Linked DNA regions of Homo sapiens: regions 1, 2, 3 and 5 are each linked to region 4. The links are contacts of gene promoters, found by promoter capture Hi-C in human tissues and cell types (Jung and others, 2019). All regions are on one chromosome and are shown on one strand. The core of a region is centred on a gene start or on the middle of the fragment in contact, and the rest is flanking DNA. Distances in the headings are between cores, read along the strand shown. Region 1 overlaps GATA6 (GATA binding protein 6). Region 2 has its middle 170 kb from the start of ROCK1. Region 3 overlaps ROCK1 (Rho associated coiled-coil containing protein kinase 1). Region 4 holds the start of SNRPD1 (small nuclear ribonucleoprotein D1 polypeptide). Region 5 overlaps ROCK1 (Rho associated coiled-coil containing protein kinase 1).

Region 1 (2,700 bases), core at 120-2,619, 560 kb before region 4:
TGAAAGCTTTCCTTTATTTTCTCTATTACAGCGGTAAATACTCTCTCCGGCTAGGAAGCACACATAACAATGACAATACGAGATTAATCCCTGAAATCAGGATTCCCTTACTTTAAAACATGGTGGCCGGGCGCGGTGGCTCACGCCTGTAATCCTAGCACTTCGGGAGGCCGAGGCGGGCGGGATCACATGAGATCGGGAGTTCGAGACCAGCCTGACCTACATGGAGAAACCCTGTCTCTACTAAAAATACAAAAAAATGAGCCGGGCGTGGTGGCACATGCCTGTAATCCCAGCTACTCGGGAGGCTGAGGCAGGAGAATCGCTTGAACCCTGGAGGCGGAGGCTGCGGTGAGCCGAGATCGCGCCATTGCACTCCAGCCTGGGCAACAAGAGTGAAACTCCGTCTCAAAAAAAAAAAAAAAAAAAAAAAAAACAAAAAAACAGTAAAACGTGTGCGAATTGGGGAAAATGCTCAACTTAAGAACATACAAACCACACTTTTACTCAAGTTCTACAAAGTTCTCTGATTTTGAAATAACAAAAGTTAGAGCAAATAAATTTTCACCAGGCTCAAGGGCAATCCAAGATATGGTATTTGGGGATACACCTGAGGATAAGAGGTAGAAGTGACCAAGAAGGTGGAAAGGACAAAGTAAACGGCACCCAAAAGAATGTGGCTGTGAGGAGGCGTGAGTGGGTGGATTTCTGGCATATTCTATTTGGGGGACGAATGGTATAAGTGAGCATGGTTTTTCAAGCATAAAATCTAAACCATACACAGTGAAAAAAGTCTTCCTTCGCCCGGCCTCGGTAGGTCTACTGTTTTTCTCCTCGGGTTACCATCACCAATTTCTTGCCTATCTTACCAGAATTATTACGGTGCTTTGGCAAGTACACCTAGAGATATATAGATTATTTTTTCTTTTTTTGCTTAAAACATGGTAACATTTTGCACCTTCCTTTTTTGTTTGTTTTTGTTTTTGTCATTTACGGACGTCATCCCCTGCGCGTAAACATGGGGAAAGGCTATCTTGGCTTCCCAGAGGCCAGTTTCGGGGTAACTTCTACTTGGGCGCCAGCGGGTGGGCGTTGGAACAGCCGGGACAGGATGGTACCGCTGGGTCCCCGCTAGGGTGGGACCGCAGCGGCCGCACCTGTCCCCTGGGAGGGGGACGCCCAAGGCAGGCCGAGCCAGGGCGGGGCCGGCCGGGCCAGGAGAGCCCGGGGCCGGCCGCGAGCCAGGGGCAGGGCGGGTCACACTCACCACGCGCTTCTGCGGCTTGATGAGGGGCCGGCTGAGGCCGTTCATCTTGCTGTAGAGCCCGCAGGCGTTGCACAGGTAGTGGCCGGTGCCGTCCCGCCGCCACAGCGGCGTCTGGATGGAGCCGCAGTTCACGCACTCGCGGCTCTCGGACAGGTCCTCCAGCAGGTCTGCGGCGACAGCGGTGCGTGAGGGCGGGAGTGGGCGCGCCGGACCCGTCCCTCCCCGCGTCACCCCGGGGACCCCGGCCCCCAGCCCCGGTGCCCGGCTTCCCTGCCCGTGCCCTTCCCGGCTGAGCTTTTCTCCTTGGCCGCAAAGCCAGGAGCAGGGTTATTTCGTCACTATTGCTCCACTGACCATTTGTCCAATACTTCTGCACACCCGGAGCGCCCCAGTAGAGACTCCGGGAAAGAGACAGTGCTGGAAGCAGAGGACGTCAGAGTCCGAGATGAGCGGTGGGGAGGTCGGCTTGAGTCCCCTGACCCCTACTCTCAGGCTGTCCCGGAGCTTTTAAAGACTGAAATCCATCATCATTACAGTACGTCGTTGCCAAACCCGAGCAAGCCACACAGAAATACTGACCACTGAGCCCCGCTGCAACCCACAAATATCCGGGGACACAGCGAGGCTGCCTCATTAACTTTTATCTCAAGTAATTTTAAAAAGTATTTTCTACATCTGCCACCCGTCCATATGTGCCTCTTCTCCAATTAAAGATACACAAGTGAAATTAAAAGTACTATTCTTAGGCACCTACGTTAGTTAGAAACTAGAAATGAGAAGATTACTCTCATCTTTTCAGGGGAAAAATGCACTAACGTTAAGCACAGAGTTTTATTTTCATGCCACAAAGATCAAATGCTAAAATCCCGATTTAGAAGTGGGTCCAACTGCTTCTATCTGCAAAATTTTTATAAAAGGTTGATACCTTACTGATTGAGAAAATTACCAAGACCTTCCCAGTGATCATTTTGAGTTAGCAATCGATTTAAAATGTGTTTATTTTACATAATTTTATTATTATTATTCTTTGGTTAGTTTTCAGAATTCACAATAACCTAAACCTGCTAATAAAAACAAATCCTAATTAAGAGTAAATGTAACATTTATTACTTCTCAAGAAGGTTAAATATGGAAGAATAAATGTCTCTAAAAATGAGAAAGGTACTTATTGTAAGTATAGACCAAAAAAAAGTATAGACCGCCATTTAAGGTTCTTTAGATTATAGAAGGTTTAAATGTCCTAGTTCTGCATTATTGAAGAAGCATTCCTGAATCACTTTTTAAAGTAAATAAACATTACACTTCAGAGTTTTAGCTTAAGATTATGTGCTGGTGAACCTTTTGGTTCTTTCTCATCCCCTTGCAGTTTATTGCTTGTGTCTACTATCAACTGTGTGGTAACGATATTTAAATATGACTTTAGCATAAAAACT
Region 2 (2,700 bases), core at 28-2,527, 670 kb after region 4:
CTCTTAGCCCCTTTTAGTGACGGCTGGAGTGGCTGGGATGCAGAGCACCAAGTCTTTAGATTGCACACAGCATGTGGACCCTGCCTGGCCCACAAAACCATTTTATCCTAGGCCTCTGGGTCTGTGATGGGAGGGGCTGCCGTGAAGGCCTCTGACATACCCTGGAGACATTTTTCCCATTGTCTTGGGGATTAACATCTTACTTATGCAAATTTCTGCAGCCAGCTTCAATTTCTCCTCAGAAAATGAGTTTTTCTTTTCTATCACATTGTCAGGTTGCAAATTTTCTGAACTTTTATGCTCTACTTCCCTTATAAAACTGAATGCCTTTAACAGCACCCATGTCACCCCTTGAATGCTTTGCTGCTTAGACATTTCTTCCACCAGATACCCTAAATCATCTCTCTGAAGTTCAAACTTACATAAATCTCTAAGGCAGGGGCGAAATGTTGCCAGTCTCTTTGCTAAAACATAACAAGAGTCACCTTTGCTCCTGTTCCCAACAAGTTCCTCATCTCCATCTGAGTCCACCTCAGCCTGGACCTTATTGTCCATATCGCTATCAGCATTTTGGACAAAGCCATTCAACAAATCTCTAGGAAGTTCCAAACTTTCCCACATTTTCCTGTCTTCTGCTGAGCCCTCCAAACGGTTTCAACCTCTGCCTGTTACCCAGTTCCAAAGTTGCTTCCACATTTTCCGGTATCTTCTCAGCAACACCCCACTTCTGGTACCAATTTACTGTATTAGTCCATTTTCACACTGCTGATAAAGACATACCTGAGACTGGGCAATTTACAAAAGAAAGACATTTAATGGACTTACAGTTCCACGTGGCTGAGGAGGCTTCCCAATCGTGGTGGAGGGTGAAAGGCATGTCTCACATGGTGGCAGACAAGATAAAAGAGCTTGTGCAGGGAAACTCCCCCTTCTATAATCATCAGATCCCATGAGAGTCATTCACCACCATGAGAACAGCACAGGAAAGACCTGCCCCCATGATTCAACTACCTCCCACCAGGTCCCTCCCACACATGTGGGAATTCAATACGAGATTTGGGTGGGGACACAGCCAAATCACATCAGATGGGGTCTCACTCTCTTGCCCAGGCTGGAGTGCAGTGGTGCAATCTCGGTTCATTGCAAGCTCTGCCTCCTGGGCTCAAGTGATCCTCCCACCTCAGTCTCCCTAGTAGCTGGGACCACAAGCACATGCCACCATGCCCAGCTAATTTTTTGTATTTTTGGTAGAGATGGGGTCTTGCCATGTTGCCCAGGCTGGTCTTGAACTACTGAGCTCAAGCAATCTGCCCATCTTGGCCTCCAAAAGTGCTGGGGTTGCAAGAAAATAGTTGCTAATTTAAAAACTGGAATACTTCAAATACAAATCTGATTTCCAATAACTGTTTCTCAACAAAGGGCCAGAGGCCTGCACATCAGCAATATCCTCTCACTGTTTTCTGAGAGAGGATATGTTTTCTATTTCACACAGTCCTTACCTGGACCACTTATTTGTGTTATCTGTCTGATGTTTAAGATCACCTGAATTTTCAGTGCTGCCAAAAAAGGTAACAATTGGCATATGATACATACAAATATAAAACATTCCCTTTCATAGAGCAGGTTTGAAACACTCTTTCTGTAGTATCTGGAAGTGGACATTTCGAGCGCTTTCAGGCCTATGGTGGAAAAGGAAATATCTTCCCATAAAAACTACACAGAAGCATTCGCAGAAACTTGTTTCTGATGTGTGTCCTCAACTAACGGAGTTGAACATTTCGTTTGACAGAGCAGTTTGGAAACACGCTTTCTGTAGAATCTGCAAGTGGATATTTGGATAGCTTTGTGGATTTCATTGGAAACGGGAGTATCTTCATATAAAATCTAGACAGAAACATTCTCAGAAACTGCTTTGTGATGTCTGCATTCAAGTCACAGAGTTGAACATTCCCTTTCATCGAGCAGGTTTGAAACACTCTTTTTGTAGTATCTGAATGTGGACATTTGGAGCGCTTTGATGCCTACAGTGAAAAAGGAAATATCTTCCCACAAAAACTAGACAGAAGCATTCTCAGAAACTTGTTTGTGATGTGTGTCCTCAACTAACAGAGTTGAACCATTCTTTTTACAGAGCAGTTTTGAAACACTCTTTTTGTAGAATCTACAGGTGGATATTGGGATAGCTTTAAGGATTTCATTGGAAACGGGAAAATCTTCATATAAAATCTAGACAGAAGCATTCTCAGAAACTTCTTTGTAATGTGTGTCCTCAACTAACAAAGTTCAACCTTTCTTTTGATACAGCAGTTTGGAAACACTCTTTTTGTAGAATCTGCAAGTGGATATTTGGATAGCTCTAACGATTTCATTGGAAATGAGAATATCTTCATATAAAATCTAGACAGAAGCACTCTCAGAAACTACTTTGTGATATCGGCATTCAAGTCACAGAGTTGAACATTCCCTTTCATGGAGCAGGTTTGAAACATTCTTTTTGTAGTATCTGGAAGTGGACATTTGGAGCGCTTTGACGACTTTGGTGAAAAAGGAAATATCTTCCCATAAAAACGAGACAGAAGCATTCTCAGAAACTTGTTTGTGATGTGTGTACTCAACTAACAGAGTTGAACCTTTCTTTTTACAGAGCAGTTTTGAAACACTCTTTTTGTAGAATCTGCAAGTGGATATTTGCATGGCTTT
Region 3 (2,700 bases), core at 71-2,570, 640 kb after region 4:
ACAGGCACACACCACCACACCTGGCTAATTTTTTGTATTTTTAGTAGAGATGGGGTTCCACTACGTTGGCAGACTGGTCTCCAACTCCTGACCTCATGATCTGCCCGCCTCAGCCTCCCAAAGGGCTGGGATTATGGGGGTGAGCCACTGCTTCCGGCCTGCTGTATCTCTTAATTCCTAGAACAGCGTGATGCATAGTAAACATAGTGTAGTACTTAGTAAACCTTCAAGTAAATAGCTGTTGGGTGAATTAATGAATTTTCTGTGTGTATGTGTGTGTGTGTGTGTGTGTGTGTGTGTGTGTGTGTGTATGTTTACTATATGTCTCCCTCTTGAGGCTTCAGGCAGAAAATTTGAATTGTAATACTCACTAGAAAATAGGAGGTGGAAGTTACTCATTCAGAACATATTTATTGAGCACCTACTCTGTTCAGGGAATACAGTAGTGACTAAGAGAGCTTATCCAAGAGAGGCTCTTTGAGAAGAGTAGGCAAACTGGAGTTGTCTTGGTCTGAATGTCAGTTCTGAAATGTTTTAGTATCATTTCCAGGGAGCATTCTCAGATTAGTTTGTAGTGATTTGCAAATCTCTTATAAGTTTTCATAATCTCATTTAATTTCAGAGCTGGAAGGGACTAGTTTAACCATCTCATTTTACAGATTTGATGAAACTGAACTGCAGGAAGTGTAAGGGACTTGCCCAGTGTCTCTACTCAATTAGTTAATGATAAAACAGAGATAAAGTTCTGGGTCTAGCCTGCTGATTAACAAGTCAATGACTTTTCCACTATGCCACGCTGCCTTCCATTCCAAATCTGCAAGAAATTTCTTTTCAAAAGCAGACTATTTGCTATTGCTTTATGACCTTTTTTAGTTAAGCACAATATGGGATAGAAAACTAAATAGTTCTTTTATAATTTTTCAACATGTGAGAGGTTAAATTCATTACTTTTATAGAAAGTTTGCAATGGATTTAAATTTATTTTAAGCAATAAAATAATTCTTTTTATCATTTAAAGTTAATTGTGTTTTTAAGAATATGATTAAGTTGGAAGGATGAACTGAATTTGTTTACATCAGTTTCTCTTAAAAAATTGTTGCAGAGAAACTCTTGCTACTCAGTTGGATCTAGCAGAAACAAAAGCTGAGTCTGAGCAGTTGGCGCGAGGCCTTCTGGAAGAACAGTATTTTGAATTGACGCAAGAAAGCAAGAAAGCTGCTTCAAGAAATAGACAAGAGATTACAGATAAAGATCACACTGTTAGTCGGGTAAGTGTGATAGTCAGGTAAGTTATATAAAATTTATTTAAATCACAATAGGTCACATCTTAAAATATTAGGGTAAGTGTGTGTGCAAGTGTATTTACTTCTATGTTAATACATAGTGGTCATTCTGTACTCATGTATAAAATAGTTTGTATAATACCAAACATTTGTTAATTATTGAAATTCTTGTTCAAGATATTGGGCTTTTGTTTGTATAGGCACAGAACCAATGCAATATTGGGCTGTTTTTCTGGCTGTAGATCTTATTAGTTATATTTCATATGAAGTAATGGCTTAGCTTAAATTCATTTGTTGTTCTCTTAATACATTGCAACTGATTTTATGGGCCAGAATTCTGTGAAATATAGAGAAACCATTTGGGAATGAGGAATTCTTGGGATAATATATAAATCCATTATAAGAAAACCAATACTCCAAACAATTACCTATTCCTGAGGTTTATACTGTAATCTATATAGAATCATGCGACTAAAAAGAGGAGTTAGATTTTTCTTGTAAAGCCACTATCAGTCACTCTGGGTTCCAGTTTTGCCCCTAAGAAGTTATATGGTCTTGGCAAAGTTGGCTTTAACTTCTCTAAGCCTCAGATTTCTCATCTATAAAATAGAAATAGTAATATCTCTTCCACATGATTGTTATGAGGATTAAATAAGACAGTAGACATAGAATGATTAATATAACATATAACAAGTAATGATTATATATTACTAAAAGTAATCTATAAATAAATGTTTTTATTATCGTTTTCATCATCAATATTCAGATAAAGATATTGAAGTCCAGAAAAAGTATGACTTGCTCGGGGTCACATACTAGGTTAATCGCAGAGCTAGAACTAAATACAAATTTCTTAGTTTGCAATCTAGTTATCTTGCCATTACATATGCCCCCCTTTTGTTCATACATATATCTATATGCATACAATGAAATAATTTTTGGATGCTGTTAACTACTTTTAAATATTTTTGATGTAATTACATATTTTAAGCTGGAAACCAGACATTTGCTGTAGTTCAGCAGTGTCTGACCTGTCTTTATCTAGCAGTATATTTAAAGGTTACTGCCTGAAATACGAGAATAGCAAAGAGGCTGGAGCTTAAACTTTTGTGTGCTTTGTTTAGCTTGAAGAAGCAAACAGCATGCTAACCAAAGATATTGAAATATTAAGAAGAGAGAATGAAGAGCTAACAGAGAAAATGAAGAAGGCAGAGGAAGGTATGTAGAATTTTTAAAAAATCATCATGTTAAATCAAATTCAGTGATTTATCTTTACCTATGTTGTGTTAGGTTTCTAAGATACCTGTTTTCATATATTAAGTAACTTCTGTAGCCTTAAGAATTATCTTAATGAAGTTACTGAAAGTTACTATGTAATGTATACTTATTTGAATAATTAAAGACATTGTTAGTTTGA
Region 4 (2,700 bases), core at 197-2,696:
CCTCAGCCTCCTGAGTAGCTGGGATTAAAGGCGCGCGCCACCACGCCCCACTAACTTTTGTAATTTTCGTAGAGACGGGGTTTCACCATGTTGGTCAGGCTGGTCTCGAACTCCTGACCTAGTGATCCACCCGCCTTGGCCTCCCAAAGTGCTGGGATTACAGACGTGAGCCACTGCGCCTGGCCTCCTCCCTGAGTGTTGAAGGCTTTTATGTGTTATTTAAAACGTTTCAAACAAACGTTACTTCAGACGTTATCTACTTGTCTGTCATCCCCACTAACCAGAAAACTCCAACAAGGCAGGTACTCTGCCTTTTAAAAAATCCTATTACCAGCGCCTAGTATGTAACAGGTGCCCAATAACTATTTAGCGGATATTGACAATCCTTGACTCAACAGGAAAAAAACAAGCTAAATATTTATAATTGCTGGCTTAGCTATTAGAAACGTCTGCCTCTGTTCCAGGCTTAGTCTCAAGGAAAAACACCAAAACCAAATCTACTTGCAGGTAGTTTAGAATTATTCACATCAGCAAACAAGTTTTCAGAAGACTCACCTAACTGACAGGGTCTATTTATTTCTTAAGAAATAAAACAGGAGAACTATATATTATCTGAGTAATCAGCCACAATTACGTTGTGATAATTTCTGCCCTATATTGGGAGATTTTCCTAAATAAAAAGCCTACCTTAAAGGGAAATAGAGGTGGAATAATCAATCACAAATCTAAGGAGGATAAAAAGGTAAACTTAAAAATCGGCCGGGCACGGTGGCTCAAACCTGTAATCTCAGCCCTTTGGAAGGGCGAGGCGGGCAGAAAGCTTGAGCCCAGGAGTTCGAGACCAGCCTGGTCAACAAAGTGAGACACCATCTTTATTTAAAAAAACAAAAACTTGTGAAGCCGGAAGTCCTTCTCTGATTTAAAATATTTTGCAAACAGGTTTGTTTCCAGATAAGCTCATACAGCTTTCTAAGTACTGTTAAGCAGGACTGGGGAGTTCCACTCAAAAAGAAAATGAGTAACTGTAAGAGGGAGATGTGTCCCAGGAGGCGCTGCATCTTTAAAGCCTCTAAGTCACTAGGCAGGAAGAAAAGGCTCGGCCTTTATACCAATCTCTTGGAAGACACGCGGGATCCGCGAGCGACCCAGGCGGAAGCCCAGGCCCGAGCACGAGCTGCGGGCGCAGTAAGGCCGGCCGTTAGCAGGCCGCGCACACGCGGCTTTCCCGCCTCCTGCAAATGGGAGAGCCCAGCCTTCCGGACTCCGGGCCAAGCCCTCCCTTCACAGCCCCCAGAGCTGCTTGGTCACTCCCTCACCTCACGAGCTTCATCCTAGCGGCGCCGTCACCCTCTGGGTCCGACAGCACACAGAATCCTTCAACCGAACACTGACCGACTGCAGTATGAATGGCCGGAAGCGCCTACTCCAGGGGCTCCGGACGTCAAGAGCGCGCGGAGCACTGCAGGCGCATGGCGGAAACGCCGAGGCTGCGCTGGGCCGCACTCTCTTCCGGCCGCGAGGAGCGCGACTGCGGCCCCTGGCGGCTGGAGGTTGCCTTGCGACGGCTGAGGGTATCGAGGGCTGGTCTTGGAGAAAAATGTCCTACAAGAGAGGGAGATTCGAAGAGATTAAATCCAATTAATAGGACTGTCGCATTTTGGGAGGCCGAAGCGGGGGTATCACCTGAGGTCAGGAGTTCAAGACCAGCCTGGCCAACAGGGTGAAACCCCCGTCTCTACTAAAAAGACAAAAAATTAGCTGGGCGTGGTGGCGGGCGCATGTAATCCCAGCTACTCGGAAGGCTGAGGCAGGGGAATCGCTTGAACCCGGGAGGCGGAGGCTGCAGTGAGCGGAGATCGCACCACTACACTCCTGCCTGGGCAACAAGAACGAAACTCCGTCTCCCAAAAAAAAAAAAAAAAAAAAAAAGTACTGTCACCATCACGTTTCTGAACAGCAGGGCACTGTGAGTGCAGCACCTAATACAAATTCCTCACTGAACGGAAAGAAGGTCTTAGAGAAGCCCAAAGTCTTATGCTGATTCTGTTCCAACACCAGGAACCTAGCATTGCTTACTGTACCTGAAGCAAATCACACAATGGGCCAGGCGCTGTGGCTCAAGCCTGTAATTCCAGCACTTTGGGAGGCCGAGGCGGGCAGATAGCGAGGTCAAGAGATCGAGACCATTCTGGCCAACATGGTGAAACCCCGCCTCTACTAAAAATACAAAAATTAGCGGGGCGTGGTGATGCGCGCCTGTAGTCCCAGCTATTCGGGAGGCTGAGGCAGGAGAATCGCTTGAACCCAGGAGGTGGAGGTTGCAGTGAGCTGAGATCGTGCCACTGCACTCCAGCCTGGCAACAGAGCGAGACTCCGTCTCAAAAAATAATAATAATAAAAATAAAATCCACAATGTAGCAGATTATTTTCACTTTAAGTTCCAATCTATAAGACAAACTTTTCAGTCTTCATCTTTCTCAACATCTCATCAAAATATATATATTTTTTATTTTTTTGAGATGGAGTCTCACTCTGTCGCCCAGGCCGGAGTGCAGTAGCGCGATCTCAGCTCACTGCAACCCTTGCCTCCCGGTTTCAAGCCATTCTCGTGCCTCAGCCTCTCCAGTAACTGAGATTACAGGCGCGCATCACCATGGCCCGCTAATTATCGTCTTTTTATGTATGTATGTATGTACGTAC
Region 5 (2,700 bases), core at 135-2,634, 590 kb after region 4:
AGGTACGGTTGCTGTTCATAAAGAAAGAACCAACAAAATATATATATATTTTTGAAACAAGAGTCTCACTCTGTCGCTGAGGCTGGAGTGCGGTGGTGTGATCTTGGCTCACTGCAATCTCTGCCTCCTGGGTTCAAGTGATTCTTGTGCCTCAGCCTCTGAGTAGCTGGGATTACAGGTGCGTACCACCATGCCTGGCTAATCTTTGTATTTTTATTAGAGATGGGGTTTTGCCATGTTGGCCAGGCTGTTGGCCAGGCTGGTCTCAAACCCCTGGCCTCAAGTGATCCACCCACCTTGGCCTCCCAAAGTAATCCCAGCGGATTACAGGTGTGAGCCACTGCACCTGGCCCTGGCAAAATATTGATTAGCTTTATTGTAATATGTAAGCATAATTTTGAATATACAGATATGAAATAGAAAACCTCTGAAATTCTTATCCCTGAAATCCAGATATACTTTTAATACCAAGGGCAGAAATCATTGTTGCTTAATTATAGCTGAATTAAACATGATTTTTAAAATAGCCTTAAGCTATATTCCTAATATAGTAACTCCCGTTTTGTAAAAAGTTACCTAAATGACCAGATTCTATGTAAAAGCACCAATATAATATGCAAATGTACCTTGATAGAGAAAAGACAGAAGGTGGAAGAATTAATGGATGTATACAAGTGATGTCCTTACATTTCCTTTGCTGCATTCAAGCTTATATTACTAATTTTGCAGAAGACTAAAATGTCAGTCTCAGTCACATAGCATGTTAAGTTTAGAAAATATCTTAGAGATGAAACAGTCTCATCTAATTTAGATGCCACTGGCATTGCTATATGCCTTATTTATATTACATAAGCAGAATCTCACATTGAATTTCTGAGATGCTTAGTAGTCAATGGAATTAAATTGCACCACACCTAGAATTTGTCATTTGTTATATGGGACTTTTCCTCTATAAAGCTGCTACACAGCCCCTATTATTGTCTTAAAGTTATTTGAATCTCCATTTGATCTGAATAATTTTTCAAGGAAAACCTAGGAAGTGGCATATTTCTAGCTGTTTCTTTTATAGTACCATTGTACTGTGTATGTTTATTGATACTTAATGGATACTTGATTATCTTCTGTTATTCACTAATTTTTAAAATTTACTTAAACTGTTCTTTTGGAACATTATTAATATCTGGTGTGTTAACACATGCCTCCAATAGCTATGAAGTATACTGTAACTATTTGATCTCCTTTTGCAATAGCTCTACTGGTTAATCAGGGTGCTGACTGTAGTGGTGGTGATGGTAGAAGTAGTGATTATGGTAGTCGTAGCATGGTGGCAGTAGGAGCAACACTGGCAGTACTAGTACCTTACCTTTATATAATATTTGGTAGCTTAAAAAATTGTTTACATATATGATCTATTTAGATTGTTTGAGAATCTTGTGAGACATCTAAAAAAGACCTCTAAATTAGTTCACTAATAGCTTTATTTATATACAATTCTAACTTTACACTGAATTTAAAGAACTCTGCAAGGCTGGGAGTCCCAAAAGATTAGCAGCATCACCTAAACTTTGGTTCTGTTATTTCACCCACATAGGCAAAAACTTTTTTGACCCGAAGAGGCAATATTATGCTTTGCTGAAGGATAGTTGGGTGCAGGAGAGGTGGTTATGCATATGTCTGCAGAAGTCAGCAGTTTCTTACCCCCAATTCTTATATACAAAAAGCTCTGAAAACTGAATGTTTTTAAGTTATTTGTTTGGTGGAAAAACCTGTCATAACCTGCTCTCATGACCAGAAAGCCTAATCTGAACTAACTTGAGACTATGGTTTTTATTTATCCTACTTGGTATGAATATTCTTATGTTTTGCTGCAGGAATATTAAGTCATATGTTTACAGGCTGCTACTATTTTTAGACCTAACTGGGTGTTTTATTTAATATATGTATCATTTCTGAATTATGTTTATAAAAATTATGAACCTATACTTAATTTTTAAAAACAAAGTTACTATAACTGAACATAAAATAGGCGTGTAGTATTTATTATTGGTTGTCATGGGATATTACAGAGTTTTTTGTTTTCTTTTCTTTTTAAACTTTTCTTTCCCTCAGATACTTATCTTCAGCAAATCCTAATGATAACAGAACTAGCTCCAATGCAGATAAAAGCTTGGTAGGTATTTTCTTAGTATTAAGAAAATTGTTTTTAAAATTGTTTTGTGGATAATATATTTGTGGGTATGATAGTAAATTTATATATTGTTTGTGAAGCTGTGGTTAGCTGAACTTAGATTTTTATGGCACTTTCATCTCCCATCTCCTTTTCAGTCTGATTTTTTGCTCAAATATCAAATGGAATAATATATTTGGAGGCAGTTAGTAAACTAAATTGTTACACAGATTGACAGTGGTCATCTTTTTTAATCTTCGGAATCAGGAACTATGATATATCAATGTATCATTAAGGGTCTTGACAGGCAAACAGATTACATGTTCAAAATATTTAAACAGAGAGTTTTGTGTGTATGGCAAATATACGTAACATGAAATTTACCGTTTTAATCATTTTTAAGTGTGCAGTTCGGTGGCATTAAGCACCTTCACATAGTTGTGCAGCCATCACTGCCATCCATCTCTAGAACCTTTTCATCATCCCAAACTAAAAATCTATACCAATTAAACAGTAACTCCTCATTTCACCCT

Evidence for each region. The method cuts DNA at HindIII sites, captures the fragments that hold promoters and counts their contacts. A contact is called where the count stands out against the background at its distance.
Region 1: a fragment that was not itself captured here is called in contact with the fragment with the promoter of SNRPD1 in region 4 in 1 of the 25 tissues and cell types used here (dorsolateral prefrontal cortex).
Region 2: a contact is called between a fragment that was not itself captured here and the fragment with the promoter of SNRPD1 in region 4, in 5 of the 25 tissues and cell types used here (H1 embryonic stem cells, dorsolateral prefrontal cortex, liver and 2 more).
Region 3: a contact is called between a fragment that was not itself captured here and the fragment with the promoter of SNRPD1 in region 4, in 2 of the 25 tissues and cell types used here (aorta and hippocampus).
Region 5: a fragment that was not itself captured here is called in contact with the fragment with the promoter of SNRPD1 in region 4 in 2 of the 25 tissues and cell types used here (heart left ventricle and lymphoblastoid cells).

What each region holds. Positions count from the first base shown.
Region 1 is chr18:22,175,689-22,178,388 of GRCh38, reverse strand. It overlaps GATA6 (GATA binding protein 6), which reads right to left. Exons shown (of 7, transcript NM_005257.6): 3 at 1,268-1,434. Among named protein-coding and RNA genes, the nearest start is that of GATA6, 7.4 kb to the right of the region's middle. RefSeq lists an enhancer at 1-87. The HindIII fragment of the contact is 4,632 bases long and covers 1-2,700 here.
Region 2 is chr18:20,939,283-20,941,982 of GRCh38, reverse strand. No RefSeq gene overlaps it. Among named protein-coding and RNA genes, the nearest start is that of ROCK1, 170 kb to the left of the region's middle. RefSeq lists enhancers at 1,584-2,189, 2,190-2,700. The HindIII fragment of the contact is 5,118 bases long and covers 1-2,700 here.
Region 3 is chr18:20,968,916-20,971,615 of GRCh38, reverse strand. It overlaps ROCK1 (Rho associated coiled-coil containing protein kinase 1), which reads left to right. Exons shown (of 33, transcript NM_005406.3): 23 at 1,103-1,268; 24 at 2,408-2,501. Among named protein-coding and RNA genes, the nearest start is that of ROCK1, 140 kb to the left of the region's middle. The HindIII fragment of the contact is 6,469 bases long and covers 1-2,700 here.
Region 4 is chr18:21,611,060-21,613,759 of GRCh38, reverse strand. SNRPD1 (small nuclear ribonucleoprotein D1 polypeptide) reads right to left here and starts at 1,446. Exons shown (of 4, transcript NM_006938.4): 1 at 1,317-1,446. The coding sequence starts at 1,330. RefSeq lists an enhancer at 1,298-1,387 and a silencer at 1,648-1,697. The HindIII fragment of the contact is 13,798 bases long and covers 1-2,700 here.
Region 5 is chr18:21,023,090-21,025,789 of GRCh38, reverse strand. It overlaps ROCK1 (Rho associated coiled-coil containing protein kinase 1), which reads left to right. Exons shown (of 33, transcript NM_005406.3): 11 at 2,110-2,170. Among named protein-coding and RNA genes, the nearest start is that of ROCK1, 87 kb to the left of the region's middle. The HindIII fragment of the contact is 5,100 bases long and covers 1-2,700 here.